Linked DNA regions of Homo sapiens: all the other regions are linked to region 4. The links are contacts of gene promoters, found by promoter capture Hi-C in blood cells and fetal thymus (Javierre and others, 2016). All regions are on one chromosome and are shown on one strand. Each heading gives the region's core, a stretch centred on a gene start or on the middle of the fragment in contact. The rest is flanking DNA. Distances are from core to core; before and after follow the strand shown. Region 1 holds the start of MYL9 (myosin light chain 9). Region 2 overlaps TGIF2-RAB5IF (TGIF2-RAB5IF readthrough). Region 3 overlaps DLGAP4 (DLG associated protein 4). Region 4 holds the start of MTCL2 (microtubule crosslinking factor 2).

Region 1 (7,267 bases), core at 3,915-6,414, 320 kb before region 4:
CAGCTCAAAACCAAAAGACAAATTTTTAAATAGGTAAAAGGATCTAAATAGACACTTTTTTTTTTTTTTCTTTTTTTTTTTTTGAGACAGAGTCTCACTCTCTGTTGCCCAGGCTGGAGTGCAGGGGCATGACCTCAGCTCACTGCAAACTCCACCTTCCGAGTTCAAGTGATTCTTGTGCTTCAGCCTCCCGAGTAGCTGAGACTACAGGCACCCACCACCACCCCCAGCTAATTTTTGTATTTTTAGTAGAGACGGAGTTTCGCCATTTTTGCCAGGCTGGTCTCAAACTCCTGACCTCGGGTGATCTGCCTGCCTTGGCCTCCCAAAGTGCTGGGATTACAGGCGTGAGCCACCACCGCGGCCAGCCTAAATAGATAATTCTCTGAAGAAGATACACAAATGTCCAATAATAAGCATGTGAAAAATGCTCAACATCTTCAGTCACTAGATAAATGCAAATCAAAACCACAATGAGATGCCACTTCACACCTAATAGCATGACTAGAATTAAAAAGACAAGCAGGGCCAGGTAGCTGTAGTCCCAGCTACTCGGGAGGCTGAGGTGGAAGGACTGCTAAGCCCAGGAGTTCAAGTCCAGCCTGGGGTAACATAGTGAGACCCTGGCTCTAATACAAACACAGACAGACAAGTATTAGTGAAGAAGTAGAGAAACTGGAACCATCCACTGCCGGTGGGAATTCAAAATGGGACAACATTGTGCAAAATTGTTTGGAAGTTCCTTAAAAGGTTAAACATAGAGGCGTTACCATATGACCCAGCGGTTCCACTCTTATATACCTGAGAAAGTGAAAACGTATATCCACACGTAAACCTGCAGATTAATGTTCACGGCACCATATTCATAATGGACAAAAAGTAGAAACAACCCAAATGTCTATCAGCTGACAAATGCAAAAACAAAATGTAGCATATAGCCATACAACAGAATACTACTTGGCAATGAAAAAGACTGAGGTCCCGGGACATTCTGCAATATGGATGATCCCTGAAAATATTATGCTAAGCGAAAGAAGCCAGACATTGTATGACTGCATTTGTTTGAAGTTTCTAGAGTAAACAAGCTGGCTAGGCGTGTGGCTCACACCTGTAATCCCAGCACTCTGGGAGGCTGAGGCAGGTGAATCACTTGAGGTCAGGATTTCGAGACCGGCCTAGACAACATGGTAAAACCCCATCTCTACTAAAAATACAAAAATTAGCTGGGGTGGTAGCAGGTGCCTGTAATCCCAGCTACTAGGGAGGCTGAGGCAGGATAATCACTTGAATTCAAGAGGCAGAGGTTGCAGTGAGCCCCACTGCACTCCCGTCTGGGTGACAGGGTGAAACTCCATCTCAAAACACAAAAACAAATTTCTACAGTAAACAAACTGATAGAGAGGGAAAGTAGATCCATAGTCTCCAGGGGCTGGGATGAGAGGAGAATGGGAAATGACTGCTGACAGGTACAGGGTTTCTTTGGGGGATTACTTACTAAAATGTTATGGAATTACATAGTAGTGCCGATAATTACATAGCTTTGTAGATACACTAAAACCAATGAATTGTACATTTCATAGGTGAATTTTATGGTTTATAAAAGATAACAATTTAAGCTTTTCTTTAAAATACAGAAAACCTGTAGAATAAGAAAAATATTTACAAATCATATCAAGGGATTAATATCCAAAACATATTTTTAAAACGCCTAGAATCAAAAAAAAAACAACCCTGCTCTTTTAAATGGGCCAAGAATTTTTTTTTTTTTTTTTTGAGACCGAGTCTCACTCTGTCCACCAGGCTGGAGTGCAGCGGCGCGATCTCGGCTCACTGTAACCTCAGCCTCCCGGATTCAAGTGAGTCTCCTGCCTCAGCCTCCCGAGTAGTTGGGATTACAGGCGTGTACAACCACACCTGGCTAATTTTTGTATTTTTCGTAGAGAACAAGATTTCACCATGCTGGCCAGGCTTGTCTCAAATTCCTGGCATCAAGTGATCCACCTGTCTAGGCCTCCCAAAGTGCTAGGATTACAGGCAAGAGCAACCACACCAGGCCCCTTGTACACTGTTGATGGGAATTTAAAATGGTACAGCCACTACAGAAAACAGTTATTGCAGTTCCTCGGAATGTTAAAAATAGAATAACCATTTGATCCAGCAATTCCATTTCTGGGCACATACCCAAAAGAATTGAAAACAGAGACTTATATGTTCACAATGTCAGGTTAAAAAAACAATAGCAGGAACTTGAAGAGACCCATGTTCACTGAAGCATTATTCAGAATAGCCAAAAAGTGGAAGCAACCCAAGTGTCCATCCATGATGAGTAGATAAACAAACTATGCAAACAATGGAATATTATTCAGCCTTAAAAAGGACGAGAGCCTGGGCAACATGGCAAAATCCCACTTCTACAAAAAGAATTTTTTAAAAAATTAGCCGGGGCCAAGCACAGTGGCTCAGGCCTATAATCCCAGCACTTTGGGAGGTCCAGGCAGGACGACTGCTTGAGGCTAGAAGTTTGAGACCAGGCTGGGCAACACAGGGAGACCCTGTTTCTACAAAAGTAGAAAACTTAGCCAGGTGTGGGCCGGGCGCAGTGGCTCACATCTGTAATCCCAGCACTTTGGGAGGCTGAGGCGGGCAGATAATGAGGTCAGGAGATCGAGACCATCCTGACTAACACGGTGAAACCCCGTCTCTACTAAACATACAAAAAAAAAAAATTAGCCGGGCATGGTGGCGGGCGCCTGTAGTCCCAGCTACTCGGAAGGCTGAGGCAGGAGAATGGCATGAACCCGGGAGGCAGAGCTTGCAGTGAGCCGAGATCGCGCCACTGGACTCCAGCCTGGGTGACAGAGCGAGACTCCGTTTCAAAAAAAAAAAAGAAAACTTAGCCGGGTGTGCTGGTGCATGCTTGCAGCCCTAGCTACTTGAGGGGGTCAAAGCAGGGGGATTGCTTGAGCCCAGGAGGTCAAGGCTGCAGTGAGCTATAATTGTGCCACTGCATGCCACCCACGGCGACAGAGTGAGACCCTATCTCAACCCCCCACCCCCAAAAAGAAATTCTGATATACACTAAACATGGATGAACCTGGGGCTTGAGGACATTATGCTGGGTGAAATAAGCCAGTGACAAAAGGTCGAATGCTATATGATTCCACTTACATGAGGCCCCAATAAGTAGATAAACTCACAGAAAACAGAAAGATGAATGATGACTGCCAGGGGCGGGGAGAAGGGGGCAAGGTGGAGTTAGTGTTTAACTGGCAGGGAGTTTCGGCTGAGGAAGATGAAAGTGCTCTGGAGATGGATGGTGGTGATGGTTGCAAAACAAAGTGAATATACTTAATGCCACCAAACTATACACTTAAAAATGCTGAAAATGGCATGAACCTGGGAGGCGGAGCTTGCAGTCAGCTGAGATGGCGCCACTGCACTCCAGCCTGGGCGACAGAGGGAGACTCCATCTCAAAAAAAAAAAAAAAAAAAAAAACACGCTGAAAATGGTAATTTTATGTTATGTATATTTTACCACAATCAAAAAATAAAATGTAAAACTGGGACACTGAAGAAATGTGATGACAAATGATCTTACTTTGGCTCCTAGACCAGAAAAAATTCCTCTAAAGGACATTATTGGGATAACTGGCACAACCTGAATATGGACTGTAAATTAGGTAATTAAATCAATGTGAAAATTGTCCTGACTTTTATCATTGTACTATGCATATTTAAGAGAATCTCCTTTTTAGGAGGTACTCACTGAAACATGTAGAGATAACAGGACATACGTATGCAAGAAACTCTCAAATGGTTGGGGGTAGGAATAAATAAATATAAATGTATGTACATGTATTATATATATGTATATGTATATGGAAAGCAAGAAGAAAATATAATAAAACCCAATGGTAACAAATGGAGAATCTAGATGAAGCTATACAGGGTTCTTTGCACAGTTCTTCTAACTTTATCCTAAGTCTGAAATCATTTCAAAATAAAGTTTTTAAAAATTAATCTGTCCAAAATAGAGTTTCTTATCCCCAAACTGCTCCACACAGCAAACCCATCATAGAAAATGGCAGCTCTTTCTCGTTGCTCACATCAAAACTCTGAGAGTCCACCCTAACTCTTTTCTTTCACACCCATTCCCATGCCCCAGCAGATCCTACCGGCTGCACCTCGGAAATAGTTTTAGCACTTGTCCCTCGGCCTCCCCGCTAGTCCGGATCAGCCTGATCCTTGCTGGGTCGCTCCTCACAGGTCCCCTGCTCGTGGACTCGGCCCCCTCTGCGCTATTTTCAACACATCACCCAGAAGGATTCCGTCAAAACCCAAGCCAGGTCGTCACCCCCTGCTCGGAACCCTCCGACACCCCACATGGCCTACAGGGAGCCACAGAGGGGTCCCTGCTGCTTCTCAGCCCCTCCGGCTCCCGCCCCCATCCTCCTGACCTCCTGCTGCCGGCGACCCCAAGCCCGGGAGCCCTCACGGCGGGGCGCACCCCTGCACCTCCTGTCTGCCCAATGTCACTGCCCAGAGCACCCTGCGGAACAGCCCACGCTCCCCCCAGGTCCCCTTCTCCTTTGAGGCCCCAGGCCGCGGAGCTACTTGTTCATCGTGTTTCCCTCCACGAAACCAGTGCTTCCCGAGTGGTTCCTTCAACCCCGCTCTGGCGGGCGACCGCTGATGTGGACAGAGCGAGTCACCGGGCGTAGGGGTCCCTGGGAGCCCCCCCACCCACCGCCTCTGCCCTCCCCACGTCGAGAGCCGTTGCCCGTCAGGGGAAGCTGCACTCCCACGGCCCATACAAGTGGGAGGCCTCTGGGGAAGCGGCCCTGGACATTCCGTTTGCCTCTCTGGAGGGGAAGGGGTGGCCCAGAGCGAACCCCCACACCCCCTCTCCCATTGCCTGCTCACCCCATCACCTCCCCTCCCTACAAGGCCCTCTGTGCAGCCCGGGCTGGCACAGCAAGGAAGGGGGGCTCACCCCAGAGCGCCCCCGCCTGCCAGCCCGTGGGTCGAGGCCAAATAAGGCCGGACGGCAGCCGAGGGCCCCCGCACCCCGCCCGCGGCCCCGCCCCGCGCACATTCTTCTGCCTTGTAAGGCCCGGCCGCCACGCCCCGCCCCCGCCTGGAGTCCAGACCCGACGGCCGGCCCAGTTCCACGCACCCAGCGAGCCCAAGCGCCTTCTCCGCACCAGGTGGGATCCGGGGCCCCGGGGGTCTTGAGGACAGGCCTAACGGCCCAGGGCTGGAGATGAGAGGTGGCCCGGGCCCGACCCGGCTGTCACGGGGGGCAAAGGCGGGCCCCACGGACTGGGACGTGGTAGGGTCTGTTGGGCACGGACTGAGGGGTGAGCTGGGGCAGCGAGTTTGCTGGGGGCCGACAGGGACTCTGGCCAGGGGCCGGGCAGCAGGAAGGCTGTTCTGGCCTCTGAGAAGCAGTGGTCCTGCGGCAAGGGAAGGCCATCGTCCAGGCCCTGCCCCTTTGCTGAGGAGCTGGAGATGCCAAGCCCAGAGCTCCGGGGGGGGCTGGGGAGCCCGGGTACAAGGGTGCTGGGGAGAGGGTTGCAGTCGTCAGTTCCCCCTGGCCCAGTAAAGGCATGTGTGTCACAGATGGAGAAACAGCCCTGTGGGACTCCACGCCCCCACAGCATCTGTGTCCCCTCCCCATCTCCCATCCCTACACCCTGGGCCAGGGGAAAGGGACCGAGACCAGGGGGCCCTTCCGACACAGCCAGTGCTGTATGCAGGGACCCGGGCCTTCCCCTCTCTGGGTCATCTCGCCTGTGGGTGGGGAAGGTCTGCGGAGGGCCCTGATGGACTCACCCCTAGGGGGCAGGACGAGGACTAGTGGCTGGGAGAACCTGATCCCTGCTCTTCCCAGCCCTCCAGCTGCTCTAAGGAGGAGACTCAGATGAGGTGCACTGAGAAGGAGGCATCTGGCCTGCCCAGCTCCAGGGGCTGGAGGTCATGGGGGCACTGCCCTGTGCTGGCTTCAGCCCAGCCTTTTCTGTTATGGTGGGAATCTGGACACCAGGATGGGGGACATGGCATCCAGTCACATCCAGGCCAAGTATCAGTGCTGACCCCTGGTGTCTAGGGCACCTGAAGGGGGAAGCGATGGCCTCAGAACTAAAGGCCCCACCCATGCCTGCCCCTCGCCCCTCCACCAGTTCTAGAAGGCGCCTCTGGATACACAGAGCCCTTTCCCACTCCACTGCCACAGGCCCGCCTGAGGACTGGGGCTCCCTGTTTTGTTCAAGCCTCGAGGGCACCAGCAGCCAAGTTTGCTCTCCACTGACCCAAACCTAGCCCAGGAATCCTGTCTTCCAGGTGGCCCCTCCCCCTCTCATGGGCACTCCACTCCCCTTCTGGGGCCTCTTTTCCTAGCTGCACCATGGGGGCACCCCTGCCTCCGCTCACCACTTCCCACAATTGCTGGGGTGGACATGGCGGCCTTGTGCAAGCCCTTAAGTACAGTGCTCCCAGCCACACCACAGCAGAGAGTGCAGACCGGGTGGCCATGAAGGCAGAGGGGCCCAGCTGGGCTCAGACCCAGCTGTGGGTGGCCTGGCCATGCCTGCCCTAGAGCTTCATAGAGTGTGGTGGGGACAGTGATGGCCATCACAGCCTCTGTTGGGCACAGTGCACTGCCTCTCTGCATGCAGCCTTCTGTGGGCACCAGGAGTCAAAGTTCCCGAGAACACTGGACTCAGGGAAGGACTAGGCCCCTCTAAAGCACGGGAGAGGAGGGGGCCGGCATCTGGGGACAATGGCACTCCCAACTAGGTCATGGGTGAGAAGGAATTCTGTCTACCTTCCTGAACCATGCAAGAAACACTGAGGGCTGGGTGTGTCGGTCCGTGGGACACGGGCAACCACTGTCTCATGACTACAGGCAGTGATGGCCCTGGGGACCAGCTGGGGCTGGCCGGGATCCCAGTCCAGGGTTGATGATCTCAAAGGCCAAGGACCGAGAATGACTTCAACAGAGTCATGGGAGGAAGGCCTGGAAACAGCTCAAGTTGCAACCACACAGCTTGGGGTGAACAACAGGCAGAGGAGGCTTCCTGGAGGCCCTGGGCCCGGGGGTTTGGGCAGAGGGAAGAGGGGCCGCAGTCCTGGAACCTCAGCCAGGCCCACTGCCCCAGCCGAGGGAAGGAGGCACTGGGTCTTCAGGCGCATATCCCCACAAGCTGTGGCAAGCATTCAGGGAAACAGTCCCAGGCCTGGTCTCAGTTTCCCCATCTGTACAGTA
Region 2 (7,000 bases), core at 4,285-6,784, 260 kb before region 4:
TTAATACGTTTCTGCCATACTGAAATGACAATACACTAACTGCAGCCCAAACTATAAAAACCAAGGTCTGCAACAGTGGGAAACTGAGTTTGGTTGAGTGTGCCTGGGTCTGGGTCTGTGCTATGTTCAGTCTCTTTTTTTTTTTTTTTTTTTTGAAACGGAGTCTCTCTCTCTTGCTAGGCTGGAGTGCAGTGGCACAATCTTGGCTCACTGCAACCTCCGCCTCCCAGGTTCAAGTGATTCTCCTACCTCAGCCTCCCAAATAGCTGGGACTACAGGAGTGCGCCACCATGCCCGGCTAATTTTTTGTATTTTTTAGTAGAGACGGGGTTTCACCGTGTTGGCCAGGATGATCTCGATCTCCTGACCTCGTGATCCACCCACCTCGGCCTCCCAAAGTGCTGCAATTACAGGCGTGAGTCACTGTGCCCAGCCCCAATTTCTTAATTTTTGTACACACACACATGAAAGTGAGATGCCCTAGGTAAAGAAACTGAGTGGGCTGTGGCTTGTGCCTACAGTCCCAGCTACTCCAAGGCTGAGGCTGGAGGATCACTTAAGCCTGGGAGTTTGAGGCTGCAATGAGCTGTGATTGGACCACTGCACTCCAGCCTGGGTGACTGAATGAGACCCCAAGACCCCATCGTTTTTTTAATTTTTTTTTATTCTAAAAAAAAAGAGAAACTGAGTAGGGATTTCAGATACTTGCCTGAACTCATATAGCCCATATAAATATGGAGCTCGAATTCAAATTCAAGTCTGTTTTCCTTCAGGGTCACTCAGGTCTGCCCAGAACCTACCTGAAGTAATATAGTGGTCACTTACTAACATAGTATCATCTAGCTGTCTAGAACAGTGCTGTGGGCTCAGCACAAGAAGTTTCTTCTGTGAATGAAATCTTGGTGGTCTCTCCTACAGGTCACTCTCCTTCAGGAATTTGGAGAGAGAGCCTCCCCACTCAAGTTTCCCAGATTAAAGAGCCTCAGCTCCCTCAGCCATTCACCCAAGGTCCTGATTTTCCCCCATTTCTCTCTCAGTATCTCTCAAACTGCACACTTGGCCCTGGAGCTCAGCAGAATAGGCACATGCTGTTACAGCTTTTCAAAGTAAGTTTAATATTCAATTCACATCGGCCGGGCGTGGTGGCTCATGCTTGTAATTCCAGCATTTTGGGAGGCTGAGGCGGGCAGATCACTTTTGAGGTCAGGAGTTCAAGACCAGCCTAGCCAACATGGTGAAACCCCGTCTCTACTAAAAATACAAAAATTGGTGGGGTGGGAATGGCGCACCCCTGTAATCCCAGCTACTCGGGAGGCTGAGGCAGGAGAATCGCTTGAACCCTGGAGGCGGAGGTTGCAGTGAGCCGAGATCATGCCACTGCACTCCAGCCTGGGCGACAGAGCGAGACTGTCTCAAAAAAAAATAAAAGGAACTGAAACCAAAAGTGTCTTCTGCATCAAGCTTCAAATGAGCCCTGGAGTGAGCAAGCACTCTAGATAATGAAAGTGAACTGCGGGATAATGTGGCTAGGGCCCCTCCTGTGACGCTGGGAACATGATCTAAGGACATCCACCTTTTTTATTAGAGTCTCATTCAGGAAACAGCTTTTAAATGTATCTGCCCTGGTCGTGAATACCCGCTGTCTCTTTGGGCTGGCTATGTATAGCCTGGCCGCCTCTCTATACCCTTGTTCTTTTTTTTTTGAGACAGATTCTTGCTCTGTCGCCCAGGCTTGAGTGCAGCAGTGCAATCTCGGCTCACTGCAACCTCCGTCTCCTGGGTTCAAGTGATTCTCCTGTCTCAGCCTCCTGAGTAGCTGGGATTACACGCACGCACCACCACCCCTGGCTAATTTTTGTATTTTAAGTAGAGACGGGGTTTCACCATGTTGGTCAGGCTGGTCTCAAACTCCTGACCTCATGATCCGCCTGCCTCAGCCTCCCAAAGTGCTGGGATTACAGACGTGAGCCACCGCACTCAGCCTATACCCTTGTTCTTAATAGGGCTAAGATGATGCTTCAAGCTTTTGGGTATCGATTTTGGACTTTGCATTAATATTTTTTTTGTTTTGTTTTGTTTAAAAAGGTGGCCGGGTGGCGTGGTGGTGCATGCTTGTAGTCCCTGCTACTTGGGAGGCTGAGGCAGAAGAATCACTTGAACCAGGGAGGCGGAGGTTGCAGTGAGCTGAGATGGCGCCGCTGCACTCCAGCCTGGCCGACAGAGTGAGACTCTGTCTCAAAAATAAAATAAAATAAAATAAAGGTAATGGTAGTGATTGGTGGGGAGGGGATCTGCCATCCTCTAGATGGGTGGTCAGGGAAGTCCTCTTCCTTTCCACTGTTTTTGAATGGTAGTTTCTCCATGGCCCCCAGGCTTAGAACCTTTTTTTTTTTTTTTTTTTTTTTTTTTGCCTCAACTTAGCCCTAGGAATAAGCATCTCTGGGGTAAGACTGAGGACTCTGGATTTTAAAAGTACAGTCTAGCTTGAAAGCTGCTACATGGGCTGGGCACGGTGGCTCATACGTGTAATCCCAGCTCTTTGGGAGGCCAAGGCTGGTAGATCACGAGGTCAGGAGTTCGAGACCAGCCTGGCCAAGATGGTGAAACCCCATCTCTACTAAAATTACAAAAATTAGCCTGGCGCGGTGGCAGGCACCTGTAATCCCAGCTACTCGGGAGGCTGAGGCAGGAGAATCGCTTGAACCCGGGAGGCAGAGGTTGGAGTGAGCCGAGATCGCACCACTGTACTCTAGCCTGGGTGACAAGGCAAAACTCCGTCTCAAAAAAAAAAAAAAGAAAAGAAAGCTGCTACATGAAAACTCCATATGGCAGAGGCCAGGTCTGCCTTGTATGGCTGTATCCTTGCTATGTTATGCACTAGAGCTGCAGAGGATAAGGTGTGGCACTCGAAGGATGCAGAAATAACCATCACTGCTGTCAGTGTTACTGATTTCAAAGGCATTTCTCTATGACCCAAGCCTGGTTTCAAATTCTTGGTCTGTCACTGATTAGCTGTCATGACCATAGGCAAGACAGTTCACTACTCCAAACTTCAGTTTTCATCATCAATAAAGTGGGAATAGTAATACTTACCTCTTGGGAGGATGAAATAGGATAATCTATACGTTACTATCTATCCTTGCTCAGCACACAGCTGAGGGAAAAACAACCTGTAAAATAACTTACCCCATACCACACAGCTTTTAAGTGGCAGAATTGGGCCTAATTACCCAGAGAAGTAATTCTCAAGCCTAAATATCCATCAAGATCATCAGGAAAGCTTACAAAGATGCATATTCCCAGACCTCACGCCCAGAGAGTCTGGGCAGGAATCTGCATTCTTCACTGATGCCACATGAGATTCTGATGATCTTGCTCCAGAGACCTTCACCATTCATTATCAGGACACTGACCTATCCCCAGGAAACTACTGGGCTGGGAAAGTAGCAACTCTTTGTCTTTCAAAGTTACAAGATGAGAGGAAGAAGGGTCTCTGAACCATCTGACGTCTTTGCTCCCAGGAGGCTATGGTAACTTGAAGGTCAAGTGTAGCCCTACCATTTTAATTACCAAAGTAATCCACACACGATGTAGAGAAATTGCAAGTAAAGGTATAAAAAGAGAAGAGTTTAGCATAATGGTTAATGGTTAAAAGCCCAGCCAGGTTTTGGATGAAAACGAATGTAGCCAGATGCAGTGGCTTATACCTGTAATTCCATCACTTTGGAAGGCCGAGGCGGGTGGATCACCCAAGGTCAGGAGCTTGAGACCAGCCTGGCAAACGTGGCAAAACCCCATCTCTACAAAATACAAAAATTAGCTGAGCATGGTGGCAGGTGCCTGTAGTCCCAGCTACTCCGGAGGCTGAGGCAGGAGAATTGCTTGAACCCAGGAGGTGGAGGTTGCAGTGAGTTGAGATTGTCCCACTGCACTCCAGCCTGGGTGACAGAGTGAGACTGTCTCAAAAACAAAACAAAACAAATGAATGTAAAACATTTAGTGAAGTGACTGGTAGCTAGTGAGGGTTCATTAAGTGCTAGTATGACATTTATTGTGGGCCAAAAAGAAAAAAAAAGACCAGGATGCAATCTCAGACCTCCATTCCAACAACAGGTGCTCTTTCCATGGCTGATGGTTGCCCCCAGGATTTCTGATACCTGTGATCCATCAGTGCCTGTGAGGGGCCAGTCTTACCCCTCAGAATATACCTTCCTCTCCAAACCCCACTCCAAGCAGCTGGCAGTGCTATCGAGGCATTCAGCTGGGAAATAGCCCTAAGGCTGAGCTCATGTGTTCAACTAGTACTAAACAGCTACAAACTCACAAAGACAAAATTTGTCCTACTTCCAAATCTGTCTCTCCCACTTTCAAATCTGACCCTTCATCAAGTTATTTTCCAACTCAGACCACCCAAGATGTTTATTTTAACCAGACGGATTCACTGAGATTCAGCCAGGTTCCCCGCTTCCTAAGATAAGGAAAGCCTTGGGTGAAAGCAAATAGGGAACAAGTCTGAGTCCCAAAAATACCTTTTAGACAAGGGCTTCCCCTCTGGCTGCCAGCTTAGCTTTGTCTGCTCCTAGAGAGGTAAGAGGAGGAACAGGGATCAGGTTTCAGATGCCTGTTGAACTTCTAACTTCCCTTATGACCTTGGGCTACACTGCAGGATTTGAGGACCCTTCCAACTAGAACTTTCTGTGACCTCTCCCAATCCCATGCAAACATAATGGCTCTTGGAGTTACGGTCAGAGCTTCGCAATGTAATACAAACATGACCTAGAGCCGGACGCAGTGGCTCATGCCTGTAATCTCAGCACTTTGAGAGGCTGAGGTGGGCGTATCACTTGAGGTCAGGAGTTCGAGACCAGCCTGGCCAACATGATGAAACCCCGTCTCTACTAAAAATACAAAAATTAGCTGGGCATAGTGGTGGGCACCTGTAATCCCAGCTACTTGGGAGGCTGAGGAGAATCCCTTGAACCTGGGAGGTGGAGGTTGCAGTGAGCCAAGATCGTACCACTGCACTCCAACCTGGGTGACAGGGCGAGACTCTGTCTCAAAAAAAAAAAAAAAAAGAAAAAGAAAAAACAAATATGACATAAAAAAATACTGTCTAATGAGATGCTCAATCATTACTAATCACTAGGGAAGTGCAAATCAAAACCACAGTGAAAATACTACTTTGCACCTAGTAGGATGATTATTAACAGCAGAAAAAGGCTGAGCACGGTGACTCACACCTGTAATCCCAGCACTTTGGGAGGCCGACGCAGGCGGATCATGACGTCAGGAGTTCCAGACCAGTCTGGCCAACATGGCAAAACCCTGTCTCTACTAAAAATACAAAAATTAGCTGGGCATGGTGGCGGGTGCCTGTAATCCCAGCTACTTGGGAGGCTGAGGCAGAAGAATCGCTTGAACCCAGGAGGCGGAGGTTGCAGTGAGCTGAGGTTGTGCCACTGTACTCCAGCCTGGGCAACAGAGCGAGACTCCTTCTCAAAAAAAAAAAAAAAACATGTATCTCCGAACCCTTGTGCACTGCTGGTGGAAATGTAAAATGCCGCAGCTGCTGTGGAAAACAACACTTCCTCAAAAAATTAAAAATAGAATTACGATATGATCTAGCAATTCCACTTCTGAGAATATGCCCAAAATAACAAAGCAGGGACACAAACAGATATTTGTACACTCCAATTCATAGCAGCATTATTCAGAATAGTCAAAGTGTAAGCAACCCAAATGTCTATCAGTAGGTAAGCAACATGTGGTATGTACATACAACAGCTTTAAAAAGGAAGGAAATTCTAACACATGCTACAACGTGGGTGAAACTGGAGGACATAATGCTAACTGAAACAAACCAGTCACAAAAGGACGAATACTGTACTCCTATGAGATACCCATTAGAACAGTCAAATTCCTACAGAGAAAGTAGAATGGAACTGGTTTCCAGGGACTGGGGAAATGGGAGAATGAGGAGTTATTTTTAATGGGTACAGAGTTTCAATTTTACAAGGTGACAAAGTTCTGAAAATGGATGGTGGTGATGGCTGCAGAACAAAGTGAATACACTTAATGCCACTGAACTGTACACTTAATAAGTGTTGAAATGATAAACTTTGTTAGATATATTTTACTAAAATTTAAAAAACAATTTTTTTTTTTGAGAGAGTCTCTCACTCTGTCACCCAGGCTGGAGTGCAGTGGTGTGATGATCACAGCTCACTGCTGCCTCTACCTTCTGGGCTTAAGCAAGCCTCCCACCTCAGCCTTCAAATAGCTGGGACTACAGGTGTGCACCACCATGCCTGGCTAATTGTTTTTTTCTTTCTTTTTTTTTTTGTGGAGACGGGGTCTCCCTGTGTAGCCCAGGCTAGTCTTGAGCTCCTGGGCTCAAGTGATCCTCCTGTCTTGGCCTCCCAAAGTGCTGGGATTACAGGCATGAACCACCATGCCAGGCCCTTAAAAATATTTTTAATTTGGTTGGGTGTGGTGGCTCACACCTGTAATCCCAGCACTTTGGAAGGCTGAGGCAGGCAGATTGCCTGAGCTCAGTAGTTCAAGACCACCCTGGGTAACACAGTGAAACCCCATGTCTACTAAAATACAAAAAATTAGCCAGGTGTGGTGGCGCACACCTGTAATCCCATCTACTCCAGAGGCTGAGGCACGAGAATCACTTGAACCTGGGAGGCAGAGGCTGCAGTGAGCTGAGATGGTGTCGCTGCACTCCAGCCTGGGCGACAGAGCGAGACTCTGTCTCCAAAATAAATAAATAAGTAATATGTTTAATTTAAAAAAGAACGGGCTGGGCATGGTGGCTCACGCCTGTAATCCCAGCACTTTGTGGGGCCGAGGTGGGTGGATCACCTGAGGTCAGGGGTTCGAGACCAGCCTGGCCAAACATGGTGAAACCCTGTCTCTACTAAAAATACAAAAAAAATTAGCCAGGCGTGGTGGCGGGCGCCTGTAATTCCAGCTACTCGGGAGGCTAAGGCAG
Region 3 (7,362 bases), core at 1,302-3,801, 390 kb before region 4:
GGCGTGAGCCACCAAGCCCGGCTCTCCATACAATCTCTTACCCAATTCCTGTCCAAGATTCTATGATACTAACACATCCATTACTGCCTTTGTACACCTCTGATCTTTATTTTCTGTTTGGATTATTTTTCTTTTATTTATATTTGCTGAATTTCAGTAAAGAGATTGTAGGCAGATTATTAACCAGCCCTTGCTCACAAATACAGTTAACTCAAATCAGAAAATTTTTAAAAATGCTTAGTTTTAAATATTTTATTTGTGACTTTTAGGTTTGGAATGAGTAAAATCAAAGCAGTTTGATAACTGCTGGGGCTCATTCTTCAGTGGGCCGCTCACTAGTCCATTTTTAACACTGTCTTAATGACCATCTTAACCTTTTTTTTGTTTGTTTTGAGACAGAGTCTCACTCTGTCGCCCAGGCTGGAGTGCAGTGGCGCAGTTTCGGCTCACTGCAACCTTCGCCTCCCGGGTTCAAGCAATTCTCGTGCCTCAGCCTCCCGAGTAGCTGGATTGCAGGCACGCGCCACCACACCTGGTTAATTTTTGTATTTTTAGTAGAGACAGGGTTTCACCATGTTGGCCAGGCTGGTCTCAAACTCCTGAGCTCAGGTGATCCACCTGCCTTGGCCTCCCAAAGTGCTGGGATTACACACGCGCCCGGCCCTTCTTAACCATTTTTAAGTGTGCAGTTCATTGGCACTAAGTACATTCCCATTGTTGTATAGCCATCATCACTATCCGTCTCTTTAACTCTTCATCTTCCCAAACTGAAACTCCGTGCCTATTAAACACTAACTCCCCATTACCCCCTTGCCTGGTCCCTGGCAACCACCTTTTTTTTTTTTTTTTTTTTTTTTTTGGAGACACAGTCTCGCTCTGTCTCCCAGGCTGGAGTGCAATGGCGCTCTCTTGGCTCACTGCAACCTCCACCTCCCAGGTTCAAGCAATTTTCCTCCCTCTGCCTCCCGAGTAGCTGGGCTTACAGGCATCTGCCACCATGCCCGGCTAATTTTTTATATTTTTAGTAGAAACAGGGTTTCACCATGTTGGTCAGGCTGGTCTCAAACTTCAGACCTCCGGTGATCCACCCGCCTCAGCCTCCCAAAGTGTTGGGATTACAGGCGTGAGCCACCGCACCTGGCCAGCAACCACCATTCTTTCTATGAATTCTATTACTCTAGGTATCTCATTCACTAGCCCAATTTTTTTTTTTTTTTTGGTTTTTTTTTTTTTTTTTTTGAGATGGAGTTTCGTTCTTGTTGCCCAGGCTGGAGTGCAATGGCACAATCTTGGCTCACCGCAACCTCCGCCTCCCAGGTTCAAGCAATCTCCCAAGTAGCTGGGATTACAGGCATGCACCACCATACCCGGCTAATTTTGTGTTTTTAATAGAGACTGGGTTTCTCCATTTTAGTCGGGGTGATCTCAAACTCCTGACCTCAGGTGATCCGCCTGCCTCAGCCTCCCAAAGTGCTGGGATTACAGGCGTGAGCTACCATGCCCAGCCCTCTCTGGCCCATTTTAAGGAGATATATTTGAAGGGCAGCTGAGGGGAATGCTCTGAATAATTAACTCTTATGGTAGTGATTAATTCTCCAAGTTTGTTTTTTTCTCTTTTTTCTTTTTTTTTTTTAAGACAGAGTCTCTGTCACCCAGCTTGGAGTGCAGTGGCACAATTTCGGCTCCCTGCAACCTCGCCTCCTAGGTCCAAGTGATTCTCCTGCCTCAGCCTCCCAGGTAGCTGGGATTACAGGCACCCGCCACCACGCCCGGCTAATTTTTGCATTTTCAGTAGAGAGGGGTTTCACCATGTTGGCCAGGCTGGTTTTGAACTCCTGACCTCAAGTGATCCACCCGCCTCTGCCTCCCAAAGTGCTGGGATTACAGGCATGAGCCACCATGCCCAGGCAATTCTCCAAGTTAATGCACAATGCACATCTAAGCTTATGTGTGGCCTTATCCTGGCAGAATTGCTAAGGGACTGATCATCTGGGAGAGCCTCCTCTGCAGAGGTAGCCTTGGTTCCAAAGCCCCTGGTGGCTTTGAGGAGCCTGGCCACTGCCCCCTATGGAGGCAGGATAATGGGATGAGGAAGGCTGTGGATCTGATCACAGGACCCAAGCATAATTCCTTCATTAGCTACTTGCTCTAGGATTTGGGCCAAGTCCCTCCACCTGCCTCAGCCTCAGCTTCCTCTTCTGGGAAATGGGACAATACTTTCCAACATATTTATGACTCAGAGTCAGTGAGACAGATGATGGACTTCCTTTGCAGTTTTGAGAATCCTAGCACAGTGTTTGGATGCAGTTAAATGCAAGGAAAATAGGACGCCTGATCCCAATTTGTAGAAGTAGTGGAGACCCAGAAATACAGGGACTTGCCCAAGGTCATACGGCACTTCACTGGTAAAATTGGGCTGAAACCCAGCTACCCTCCACAAGTTGCAGCTTTTTAAGGTTTCTTGTTGGTCAGTCTTTCGAAGGACAGTAGACTTGAAATAGATGTTTGCTTTTCCGTCTTACTGGATTTGAAACATTTCTCAAGAAGCTCCAGTGTTGATGGGCCTGTGAGGGAGGATAGAGGGTAAAGATTTGGGTAGGGAATAAAGACAATAATTCTGTGTCATAGGACTAGAGTCCTAAATGACTTTCATGGTGATCATCTTGTCCAGGGACAGCAAATATCTTGCACTGGGCAATTACCCCTCCTACTGGACCCATGGCAGACAGCATCAGCCACAGCACTCCCATTGACCCCTGGATACAGCGTGAGGAGTCTTCTCGACACAGGCAAAACCAATCAACCAGAAGTAGCATGCCCAGTGGAATCTGTGCCCTCCCTAATCTAGTGCAGTCCCCTGCTTTTACAGATGGGTGGCAGTCCTGGGAGGGGAAAGGACTATGAAGGGCAATTGATGTCACAGGTCTCTTTGTGAGAGCAGAAAAGAGTCTGGCAGGACAGTTCGAAGCCTTCGGAAGTATGTTTGCAAAAACATCAGGGCAGAGCAGCTCCCAGGGGGTAGATGTTATCAAGGTAAAGTCTGTTTTCTCCAGATGTTTCTTGGGATGCTGCCTGGCCTCGGGATGTTTATGAGAGTGTACTGTAGTCAGATTCCACCAACCAGAGCAGGAGGACAAACTTGGCTATCTACAGCAGCTTCTAAGCTTTGTAGGAATGTATGTGTCAGTCTTGCCGAAGCAAGCTTGTATTTTTACTACTTGTGAGGCTGGATCCTGTGAAGGTTGCATTCTGGAAGTTGAAACCTGTAGGGTTTGTACTCACTTAGCAGATAGAACATGACTCACTGTGTGATCCCGAACAGAGCCTTCAACCTCTCTGAGCCTCCTTTTTCCTTAGTAGCACAGGGGTGATGATGAAAACATCTCCTTGAGGGGATCAAATGTAAGATGCAGAGGTTAGGACCTCAGATGGTGATTGGGCTACTGCAATAACCACCAATTCCTGAGCAGGTGAAAAACATCTGGCAACTGTGATTATTAGCCACTAATGTTCAGCCACTCCTCAGTGTGGCTGACCCTGTGCCATTGTTGGGGCAGAGTTCTATGGACAGGATGGGGTGGTTGGTGACCTTCTGATTGGTAGATGTTCTTTCAAAGACATCTTCCCAGATGTTACCATGTTGTGCTTTCAGAGGTAGTTGAGAGGAACGTTGAGTGGGGCGGGCTCTGTGGGCATGAGGGGACATATAGTCAAGACTTGTTCCAGCATCACTGTCATCTGCTTGCCAAGTTGTCTCTTACTCTTCTCTACTTAGAGTCTTCAAAGTCTTCTAGGATGAGGGCTCTGCCAGCCTGTGTCATTTTTAGGGTGAAATGAGAGGGTGGGGTTCTGCCTCCTAAGTGTCAACAGGCATTCACCTGGGTACCTCTTTTGAGCCAGGATTGGAGGTCACAGGGATGCCACCCTGCCTTCAGGAGGCTCAGGGTCTAAAGGAGGAAGCAGAAAAGTAAAGAGGTTTGTAAAAATAGTGTGGTGGGCAAGGGCCTGTGGTGTGCCTGAATGTGGGATGTTGTTCAGTGAGTGAGCCAGGGCAGGGGCCTGGGAAGACTGTTAGGGAAGGCTTTTTGGCAGGAGTGATGCTGGAACTGATACCTAAAGGAGGAGGCAGAATCAGTGAGGAAGAGGGTGTTCAGGCAGCACAGAGGCCTGGAAGCTGAGCATGGTGTGTTGGCATGAAGGGGGTGATGGAGAGTTAGAGGGGTGATTGACAAGGCAGAGAGGCCAGTGGTCCCTACACTAAAATGTTAGAATGGTGCTGCTACAGTGCGGTGTCGAGGGGCTGGATGGTTGGGGGTGCTGGGCAGGGCAATGAATCTTCCCGAACTTAGTCCTTGGACAGGATGAGACCCCTCATTTCTGCCCCAGGCCAGAAATCCTCAGCTTCTGGCATGCAGAGTCCATGGAGGGCCTGGGATTGGGCAGCAGCTCCGTGGGCCCTTTGCTCAGGAGATGTTTAGGCTCCTCAGGCAATTGTAATGACAGTTCCTCACCTGCCAAGCCCTTTCCCACCTGTCTTGGGAAACTCACAGCAGTCCTAGGGCAATAGACAGGGCAAGCCGCATTATTCTCATTTTATAGATGGGAGAAATTCAGACCCAGGAGCTTAAGTCATACACTGAATGAAGGCTGATTCCAGGGATTCCTAACCTACTGGCAGTTTCTGTCATAGCAGGTATTTTGAAGGGGGCAGGGTAGCAAGTATCAGCTGATCTCCTATTCTGAGGATGGATTTATCATCTCAGATGGGAGCTCTTATGCAGCTAGACTTCCCAGACGAAGGTGTTTTACTTCCAGACTTTGCTGTCTGAAGCCCTGGTGTTAGTCCTCACAAGATTTCCCGTGTGGCTAGGCTGTGTGAACATTCTCATTTTGTATTTCGCTGTTTGTTGATAACAATTCTCCGGAGGTAGGGGGGTAAAAAAGACCAGTGGCTCACGCCTGTAATCCCAGCACTTGGAAGACCAGGGTGAGATGATGGCTTGAGCCCAGGAGTTTGAGATCAGTCTGGGCAACATAGTGAGACCCTGTCTCTACAAAAAATTAAAATTAAAAAAATTAGTCAGGAGCAGTGGTACATGTCTGTAGTCCTAGCTACTCGGGAGGCTGACGTGGGAGGATCACTTGAGCCCAGGAAGTTGAAGCTACAGTGAACTATGATCACACCCTGTACTCCAGCCTAGGTGACAGAGTGAAACCCTGTCTCTAAACAAAAAGTTGGCTGGGCACGGTAACTCAACGCCTGTAATCCCAGCACTTCAGGAGGCCTAGGTGGAAAAATTGCTTAAGCCCAGGAGTTCTAGTACAGCATGGGCAACATAGTGAGACCTCATCTCTACAAAAACTAAAAAAATTAGCCAGGCATGGTGGTGCACCCCTGTGGTTCCAGTTACTTGGGAGGCTGAGGTGAGAGGATTGCTTGAGCCCGGGCTATCAAGGCTGCAGTGAGCTGTGATCATACCACTGCACTCCAGCCTGGATGACAGTGAGACTGTCTCAAAAAAAAAATGTTGAACTATGAATGTCATGCACACAAAGATGATGTGTGGTATCACGTCCAGAACTGGATGTAAAGTAGAAGGGCAAAGAGCGTCTCAGGCCCGGTAGGAATCTTAAAAGTCACACCCATGGGGACTTCAGTTTCCTCCCTGGCATCCATCCTGCCTGTGTCTAGCCTGGCTGGCCATTTTCTAGGTCCTTCTTCCATCTTTGGCCAGCTCTGCTTCTTAGAAAGCTCCTCTTTATAATTAGTCAAAATTTACTTCCATTAACAATCCCCACCTTCCTTTTCCCCTCTGATTGTAGTGTGACCCTCTGGGGCTACATGTGTATTTGACAGTCTTTTAGGTATTTGAGGACAGTAGCCATGCCCTTTTAAATTGTCTCTCTTCTCCAGGGTGACCATCCTAGCCTCTCCAAGCCATCCCTCACTTTACGCTAAGCACAACTTTTGGTGCATATGTGTCACACGCCCCGTTTGTGACAAGTCCGTCCCAGACACACTAATCACTTGTTGAATCAGTCCTGGGCTTTCTCATGCAACTCCATATGGCTGCCACAGTGCCCAGTCAGTGGAGGAGGCTTTTCATTGTCATCTCCACATTTCTATGGGTTTCTTGAGGACAAGGACTACTCATTCTGGGTCCCTAGTGGCTGGCACTGTGCATGGCTTTCCCTCTGTAAATAAGCATTTGCTGGAATGGGGTGGAGTTGAGACTTCTCCCTGTGTGGATCACCTTCTGTCTTCAGGTTCCAGTTTGACGATATCCCTTGCCTGGAATTACCTATGATACCCTCAGTATTATCCAGAGTTCAGTGGGGACTGCGCCCTCTCTGGTCCTGTGACTTTCCTGTAACAGTGCATCCTCAGTGTCTGTGGTCAGCTGACGTCACTAAGCCATTTTTCCACATATGCCGCTTTTCTTGTGTAATTGTCTTACTTGGGTTCCCAAACTCAGGGTCTTAATATAAGCTCTGAGGGAAAAAAAATCCCTCTGTTTTTCTGTGTCTCTGTCCCCCGGGTGTGCCTGGCACAGAGACAGGCAGCATTACCTCTGCTGACCTGAAGTGAACTCACGGTTTTCCCCATTCAGTCCTGCACTATTCGTCTCATCCCAACTCTAGGCTGCCGAGGGATCTTGGCTCCTACTCCTGTCACCTGATATGCCACCTGCCACTCCAGGCCCAGTGAATGAGCTTGTTAACACTGCCTTTCTATTCTGGGATTCGCTTGGTCATTCAGAATGGTGAAAGAGGCCAGCAATCGAGGTGCACAGGGCCTGGCAGCGTCTGGCTTTGCACACTGGACACACAGCCTATGACAGTTGGTGAAAGCCGGGCTTTTGTGACCTATCGCCAGGGTTTGAAGTCAGCCCTCCATTGACATCAGCCCTCCAGAAGTGAGGGTAGTTTTTTTGAGGCTCTTTCCAAGTAATACTTCCCAGGCTGGGCTCTGGGATCTTAGGGCTTTGGAAAGGTAGCAGCAAAGCTCGTATGATACAGCCAGTATTTGAAAAGCCACATTTTGCATTCTCTACCCTCAGTCCTTCACCAGACCAAGCGGGCTGCACATGTCAAGTTTTTGCACTGGGCTGGAGCCGAGGCAGCTTTGTAACTGGGCGGTTTCTCCTGCTTACTAGCACCTGCTTCTCGTGGGTTGTTTTTTTGTTTTTGTTTTTGTTTTTTTGAGACAGGGTCTAACTCTGTTGTCCAGGCTGGAGTGCAGTGGCATGATCTTGGTTCACTACAACCTCTGTCTCCCGGGTTCAAGTGATCCCCACACCTCAGCCTCCTGAGTAGCTGGGATTACTGGCATGAGATACCATGCCCGGCTAATTTTTGTAT
Region 4 (6,842 bases), core at 2,292-4,791:
TATTTATGGTCCACATTTAGTCTCTGGATTTTGACCCTGCCTCTGTGAGGCTGGCGGCTGGGATAAACAGATATACAGAGAAGTTAAGGGACTAACCCAAATGTACACAGTGAGAAGTGGCATGGGCTGGCCTTGCTCTCCTCTCTTACCCACACTCCTTCCCCTCTCTGGCCTTAGCGCTGTTCTTGAACTCAACGAGCATTCCAATTTCCCTTAGCCTGAAATCTTCTTACTCCAGACCCTCACTCAGTTGGCTCCACGGCATCCTGCAGCCCTCAGCCTCCCTGTGCACCCCAGCCCCCACCTTCGTGTGCTCCTGGCAAACTGTCCCCTTTACCCTCATTATGATCTGTGTTGTGATTTCTTGTATGACTATTGTTTAATTCTGGTCTCCCCAAAAGCTCTATGAAAACAGACACCTCATCCTCCCTTGTCCACAGCTGTATCCCAGATCTGCCCTAGCACACGGCAGGTTCTAAATAAACAGCTGCCGAATGAACCAATGAGGGGCCAGGAGAAAGAGCCCAGCCTGCCTTGGGTGATGAAGAGGATCTATTCTGCCCTCACAGAATCCACAAGAGAACAGGCTGGGTGCACATGGAAACATGTCCCGTGCCTCTGACAAGAGCAGTGATCAGAGGTTTACTACATACCAGGTGCTCTAATGGTGTTTGCAGGAATCAGCTCATTTAACCGTTGAGGTTGGAAAGCGTGTTACTGTCCCATTTTTACAAATGAGAAAGCAAAGGTCCAGGGCCTTTAAGTAACTTGCCAAAGATCACGCCGTCAGGAAGCGACAGACCCCAGATCCAATAGCAGCACGAAGCCTGAGCCACTGAATGAATGGTGGAAATTACGGTTCCATCTTGGCCCAAACGTGGGATGTCCCCAGCTGGACCCCGGCCCCTGTGAGATCCCGGGCTCAACCCCCAGCCTCCTGGGACTGTTTTCCCCTTTAAACAGTCATGGGTGCCTCAAACAGACTTTGGGTCAGAGCCTGATGACTTCCTGGGATGGACAGGGGCCCATGGAGATGGGTGCCTAGGAGCCCTGAAGCAAAGCTCTGCAACCCATCCCCCTTCACCAGAGTGAGTAGCAGGAACCGGGAGGCAGGGGTGAGGAACTCAGAGTTTCGGTTAAGGCCAATTCAGGCAGCACTCACTGGAAGCAGCTCAGAGCACCAAGAGGGCAGGAGCAAAAGACCCTTGTCCTGGCTCGTCACCTCCCTCCTCCTCCTCACCTTCCACTTGCCCTCTCCTTACCACCGGCTTCTGAAGACTCAAAGAGCCGACTGAACTCCCAGTTGCCAACACCGAACCCGGCCCTTGGGAAGACATCCTCCCATTTAACGGATGAGGAGACTGAGGCCTGGCTTGGGGAAAGGTGTCTCTTGATTCAGACAGACCTTGTCCTTCCATACTACAAGCATTTACAGAACTCAGGCTGGAGAGCAGATCCCGGGGAAAATGGGGAGACAGAGACATAGTTGAGCAAGACACCAACACTCTAATGAGGGAGAAGCCCATTTGGTCAGAAGAGCCACAAGGAAAAGTTAAAACCTAAGTGCTGAGGGCAGACATAAACCAGCAGCATGCTGTGAGCTCCACAGCCAGGGGCACTCTGGGTGTTGTGCCAGGCCATCATCCACTGACAAGAGTCGGCAACATTTCAGCCTCCTCCAAAACCGTGCCCAGCCAGCGGCAGGAGAGCTCAGGAAGCTTCCAGCCTCCCAGGGAGAGGTCAACACGTGCAAGCTGGGCTGTCCCTAAAGCTGCCATGGCACCTGGAAGCGTGCAGATGGAGCCCGGCTGGCACCCAGTAGGTGCTCATGTCCACTGAAAAAGCAAAGGCAAAGCCTGCTGTCCGGGGGAAGCCCTAGGGTCCCCACATGGCCACAGGGAAGTCCTGTTCCAGGTGGGCAGTTGCCCTCCTCTCACTGCGAACATGGAAAGGCACTGGCCACGAGGGGCCAATGGGGCTGTTGTGTGCACAAGGTCTGCCCCAGGGAGGGCAAAAGACACTGTCCTGGGATTTAGGAAGCTGCCTCTGAACCGGTTCTCCCACGACATCATCCTCCAGGCTGTGGGACCGTTAGGCTGGGCGGAAGTGGACTCCAGCCAAGGGGATGTTCCCAGATGTCATGCTTTCAAACTGGACCCGCCCAGAAAGGCAGGCAGAGACAGGCCTGCGCCCGGGAAAGCCCTGGGTAACGACTCAGGATGGCATTCAGGCCTTTCCTGGGCAGGGGATGGCCACAGGTTTCCCTGGCGGCGGTGTCTATCAATCCCGTCCCAAGAAGGAGAGCCTGGGCGTGGAGGTTCTGGGCAGCTGAAGGCAGAGATCCATCCCTTCCCTGGCTACCCACCCCCACCTCAGCAACGCCTCCCAGAACGCTCCAAAGCTTTCTCAAGTCCCCGCTCCCAGGTTAGGGCCCTGTAGCCAGTTCCAAGGTCTTTTTCAGGAGCGCGCTTCCCAAATAAAGTTGAGAGGGGGCGGGGGGAATGAGGGAGCCCCAGATCCACCTCAGAGTGGTCCCCAGAGGGCTTGGGCCCCTTTCTCCGGATTGTTCAGTGGGAAGGAGGGCCGGCTGGTGCCTCAGGCCCGCGGGACTGTGACAGCCGGCGACCCCTGCGACCTCCCTTTCTACCCGGGCGCCCCCACCTTGAGATAGTCGTTCTCCGAGCGCAGCTCCTCCAGCTCCCGCACCAAGCCGCTGGGCCCGCAGTCCAGCATCTCCTCGGTGAGGTCGGAGAAGGCAAGCGAGGCGCTGAGCGGCAAGCGGCTGCTGCCCACCGACGACGCGGCCACCGACGGCTCGTCCGGGGAGGCGGGCGGCCGCGGGGGCTGCTGCGCGGAGGGCGCGGGCTGGGCCGGCTGCCCCGTACGGACCCCCGCCGGGCCCCCGGCCGCGGACTCGGCGTCGCTGCTCAGCGCCAGCTCCAGGCCCAGCAGGCGCGCCTCCTCCGACGCGCAGTCCGACACCTCCGAGCTGCTATCCGTGAGGCTGGGGGGCGGCGGTGGCGGTCGCGGCCCCGCACCCGAGCGCGGACGGCCCTTGGCACGGACCCCGGTGCGGACCCCGGCCACCCGCACACCCGCACCGCGCGCCCCGGGAGCCACTGCGCGCCCCTTCTTGTCCGGCCGTGAGGAGAACGCGGCGCTGCAGGCGACTGCTGAGCCCGGGCCTGGGCCGCGGCGGCCCTTAGCCAGCGACCAGCCGGCCACGTCTTTGGGCCGGGCCGGCGACGGCGCGCGGTGGCTCTTTTTCCTCTCCGGGGCAGGCGCGGGTGCAGGCGCGGGCTGGGGACCGCAGCCCCGGACCGGGGGCTCGGCCGCCGGCGCCTCCATCGCGGCCTCCCTCGGCCTCAGCGAGCTGCGCGCATGGCCCAGGCCCGCCCGGCCTCGACGTCCCTGGGGAGGGACCCGGCGCGGCTCCGGCCGCTGGGGCTGCGGCTGCTCTCGGCCCACCTCGGCCCCGACACCGCGTCCCCGTCCCAAGCCCCGCCGCGCGGTCTCTCCGCTGCTCTGGGCTCGGAGAGTGCGGCCCGACCGCCTCCAGGCGCCCCGGCTCCGGCTGCGGCTCCGCCCGGCGCCCGCCCCCTCGGCCTCGCCGCGCCCCCGGAGCGCGCCCGGGCCCCCGCCGCCCGCACGCCGATCGCTCCCTCGGGCTCCGAGTCCGGCTGCGGCCCGGGCCCCGGCTCCGCCCGGCGCAGCCCGCCCCCCGCGCAGCCCCGCCAGCTCCCCGCCCCGCCGCCTCGGCTCGGGGGCGCGCGGTTCCGCGAACAAAAGGCGGACGCGGCGGGAGCGGCAGGGAGGGACGCAGGCAGGGAGCGAGGGAGGGATCTGCGAGGCAACAGCGACCCCTTCGAGGGTCAGGCTGGCGCGGGCAGCCGCGGCCCGGGCTCCCTCCTCCTCCGCTCCGCCGCCTCCTCCCCTGCCCGCTCGGGGAAGGCACCCGGCGGAGGCGCCCCTGCGCCCGGCGTCCGGGCAGGGCCTGCGAGAGCGGCGGGAGCCGGGACTCCCGGGCCGAGGCCGGGCGGACCTCAGTTCGCAGGAACCCGCATCCATGCACGCCCAGCGCCTCGCCCCTCGCCCCGTGCCGAGCGTGCGCGAACTCCGCCCCCTTAGCCGGCATCGCCGGAGCCGCGATCCCATCGCACAGATGCGTAAACTGAAGCCTGGGGTGCACGCGCCAAGCTCACGGTCTAGGCGGCGCCGATGGGACCCAAAGCTCACACCTCCCGGGCGCGCTCGGGCTCCCCCTGCCTCGGCTTCCCTCTCCTGGCATAGGGACCGTGAAGCCCTGTGTGCATGCCTGGCTCGCGCACCTTGACCGGCGGATATTTCTCCCCATGCGCCCCCGACCCGGGTTTCAGGCTCTGTACGGCTAAAATGGAAGCGACCCGTAGCTAGGCGCGGTGGCTCATGCCTGTAATCCCAGCACTTTGGGAGGCCGAGGCGGGTGGATCACGAGGTCAGGAGTTCGAGACCAGCCTGACCAACATGATGAAACCCCGTCTCTACTAAAAATACACAAATTAGCCGGGCGTGGTAGCGCGTGCCTGTAATCCCAGCTACTCGGGAGGCTGAGGCAGGAGAATCGCTTGAACCCGGGAGGCGGAGGTTGCAGTGAGCCGAGGTCGCGCCACTGCACTCCAGTCTGGGTGGCAGAGCTAGACTCCATCTCAAAAAAATAAACAAATAAATAAAAACAAAAATAAAATGGAGGGGACCTATTACGAGATGTCAGCCTAGCGGATGCTTTGGAAGGCGGTTTTGGCCCCCGTGGGGGCTGGCATGGGCTGGGACGGTTGCCCTGACCCCACACGTCCCCACCAGGAGCAGTGCAGGAGGACTTGAGCTCTGATGGGCGTGTTTTCTTTCCTCCCGGGCGTCTGGGCGTCTCCTTGGCTCCTGGCCGTGTTGATTTTCCCATGTCTCTCACACCTTCCCCAGCCCCCACACCGCCTGGCCGCTACGCCCCCATCCCTGAGCCACCGCAGGGCAGAGCTGGATTGAGTGCTTTGCCCCACAGATGTACCCTCGTCCTTAGGGTGCCCCACACCCCTTGCCACCAGAAGGGCAGGGCTGTTTTTGCCCCTTTACAACCTCTTTCTCCTCCTGTTCTCTCCTCCCCCTCCCATTTATCCCCTGCTCTTTCTTCCTCCTTCTTCTCCCATCTTTCCCCTTCCTTTCCCCCCTCCTTTTCCAAGTCTTCCTTTTCCTCCTCTTTCCCCTCTTCTTCCTCCTGCCCATTTTCTCCTTCTTCTTCCTCCCCCAATTCCCTTCCTTCACCTCTGCACCTGCCTGTGACACAGCAGGCACCAGGTCCACTTCTTTGTCTCTGTCCCACCTCCCCCACACGCTGTGAATACACTCCTGGGGCATCCCCTCTCTCCAGAGGCATGACTTCATCTGGATCCAGGTGAGTGAGTGCTCCTCCACCCCAACGCTAGGTGCCCTCCATACGGCCAAGTGAGGAGCAGGCACTCAGCAGGCTCTTGGCAAACACTTCCGCAGGGGCATCCCCACCCCCTCCTAGCAAGACACCAGCTCCCCTCACGGCCCACTGACTGTCCACAAACCCTGTTTGCACAGGCGCCAGGTACACTGAGGGACGCAGTGGTGGGCATGTCAGTGCCTGAACTCATGGAGCACACAGTGTGTGTTGGGGGGGACCACAAAAGACTCAGCACAAACAGGGTGGCATGGCATGTGGGCAGGAGTGCTGGAGAAGGATGTGGGAGCCGCAGGCTAGTGACCCAGGGCAGGCCTTCCCACATTCCGGGCCTCAGAGTCCCCACCTGCTCTGGTCTAATGTAACAGATGACAGGGTCCATCCAGCTCAGATGCCCCTGGCTCTAGTAGGCTGCATCTAGTCTGGCACAGAAAGATGCTGTGAAGCTCTTGGAAAGTGTGTCCTCTCTCTGTGCTTCAGTTTCTGCCCCTGTGCAGAACATAGGTTTGGAGGTGTTGGGTGGTGTGAATGCAGGGACATAGCAGACCAGGCTGGCTCAGCCACTCCTGACACACCCTTGGTCACATCAGTGGTCCTGAGATTAGAGTGGCCTGCATCTCTCTTCTAGGGCAGGGATCTGAGTCCTGGCTCTACCACCTATCCTCTCTGGGCCCAACACTCATGGCTGGCCAGGGAGGGGCCTGTGGGTCCCACCTGCTCTGAGGTGCTTTGGATTTGGGGAGTCAAGAATCTACATTGTAGACCCAGGGAAGCCTTGAGAACAACAGGGCTCTGGTGGGGAGGGACTAGGTGGGGCTGACGTAGGGGCTGTGGACTCAGGGTCAGTTCAGACCAGGGATACCACAAAGGAGATAAGACTTGTTGAGAGTCCAGAACTGGCTACATTGTAGACGGGGTGACCGTCCTTGCGCCGGCACATCCTGCAGCTGTGTGATGCGTGGCCTCTTCCTGTGTGCCGGGCTCTGTGCTCCACATTTCAGTAAAGGATCTCCAAAAGGTGAAGATACTTCTTGTGACTGATTAATATTTTCCAAAGGGTATATCTCATCCCAATTGCTCTTCTTACAATGTGACACTGATGCTCCTCCAATTGAGCGGCACATGTGTGCGGCACGTGTGTGGGGGCACTGTGTGCCCCCACCTTGAATCTCAGCAGATCTTGTGACTGTCTCAACCAACAGAGTATGGCAGAAGTGTTCATCTGTGACTTCCAAGGTTAGGTCATAAAAAGCAACATGGATTCCACCCAGCTTGCTTCTCTCTCTCTTTCTCTCTCTCTGTCTCTCTGGCCACTCACCCACCATGATAGGAGGAAGCCCAGGCCTCATGGGGAGACCGCATGAAGGTGATCTAGCCAACAACT

What was found. The method cuts DNA at HindIII sites, captures the fragments that hold promoters and counts their contacts. A CHiCAGO score of 5 or more calls a contact.
Region 1: a contact is called between the fragment with the promoter of MYL9 here and the fragment with the promoter of MTCL2 in region 4, in 12 of 17 cell types (endothelial precursors, total B cells, M2 macrophages and 9 more). The highest score is 12.6, in endothelial precursors.
Region 2: a fragment that was not itself captured here is called in contact with the fragment with the promoter of MTCL2 in region 4 in 2 of 17 cell types (endothelial precursors and M2 macrophages); the score reaches 5.5 in endothelial precursors.
Region 3: a contact is called between a fragment that was not itself captured here and the fragment with the promoter of MTCL2 in region 4, in 1 of 17 cell types (endothelial precursors). The highest score is 5.9, in endothelial precursors.

What each region holds. Positions count from the first base shown.
Region 1 is chr20:36,536,355-36,543,621 of GRCh38, forward strand. MYL9 (myosin light chain 9) reads left to right here and starts at 5,165. Exons shown (of 4, transcript NM_006097.5): 1 at 5,165-5,207. The region is part of intron 2 of DLGAP4-AS1 (DLGAP4 antisense RNA 1); the gene reads right to left. RefSeq lists a silencer at 4,986-5,185 and enhancers at 5,966-6,619, 6,620-7,267. The HindIII fragment of the contact is 13,527 bases long and covers 1,615-7,267 here.
Region 2 is chr20:36,594,403-36,601,402 of GRCh38, forward strand. All of the region lies in intron 2 of TGIF2-RAB5IF (TGIF2-RAB5IF readthrough), which reads left to right. Among named protein-coding and RNA genes, the nearest start is that of RAB5IF, 7.9 kb to the right of the region's middle. RefSeq lists enhancers at 1,317-1,686, 5,686-5,755. The HindIII fragment of the contact is 4,513 bases long and covers 3,279-7,000 here.
Region 3 is chr20:36,475,486-36,482,847 of GRCh38, forward strand. All of the region lies in intron 7 of DLGAP4 (DLG associated protein 4), which reads left to right. Among named protein-coding and RNA genes, the nearest start is that of MYL9, 62 kb to the right of the region's middle. The HindIII fragment of the contact is 1,221 bases long and covers 1,942-3,162 here.
Region 4 is chr20:36,859,997-36,866,838 of GRCh38, forward strand. MTCL2 (microtubule crosslinking factor 2) reads right to left here and starts at 3,542. Exons shown (of 15, transcript NM_080627.4): 1 at 2,662-3,542. The coding sequence starts at 3,348. RefSeq lists silencers at 3,142-3,291, 3,362-4,251. The HindIII fragment of the contact is 4,947 bases long and covers 2,400-6,842 here.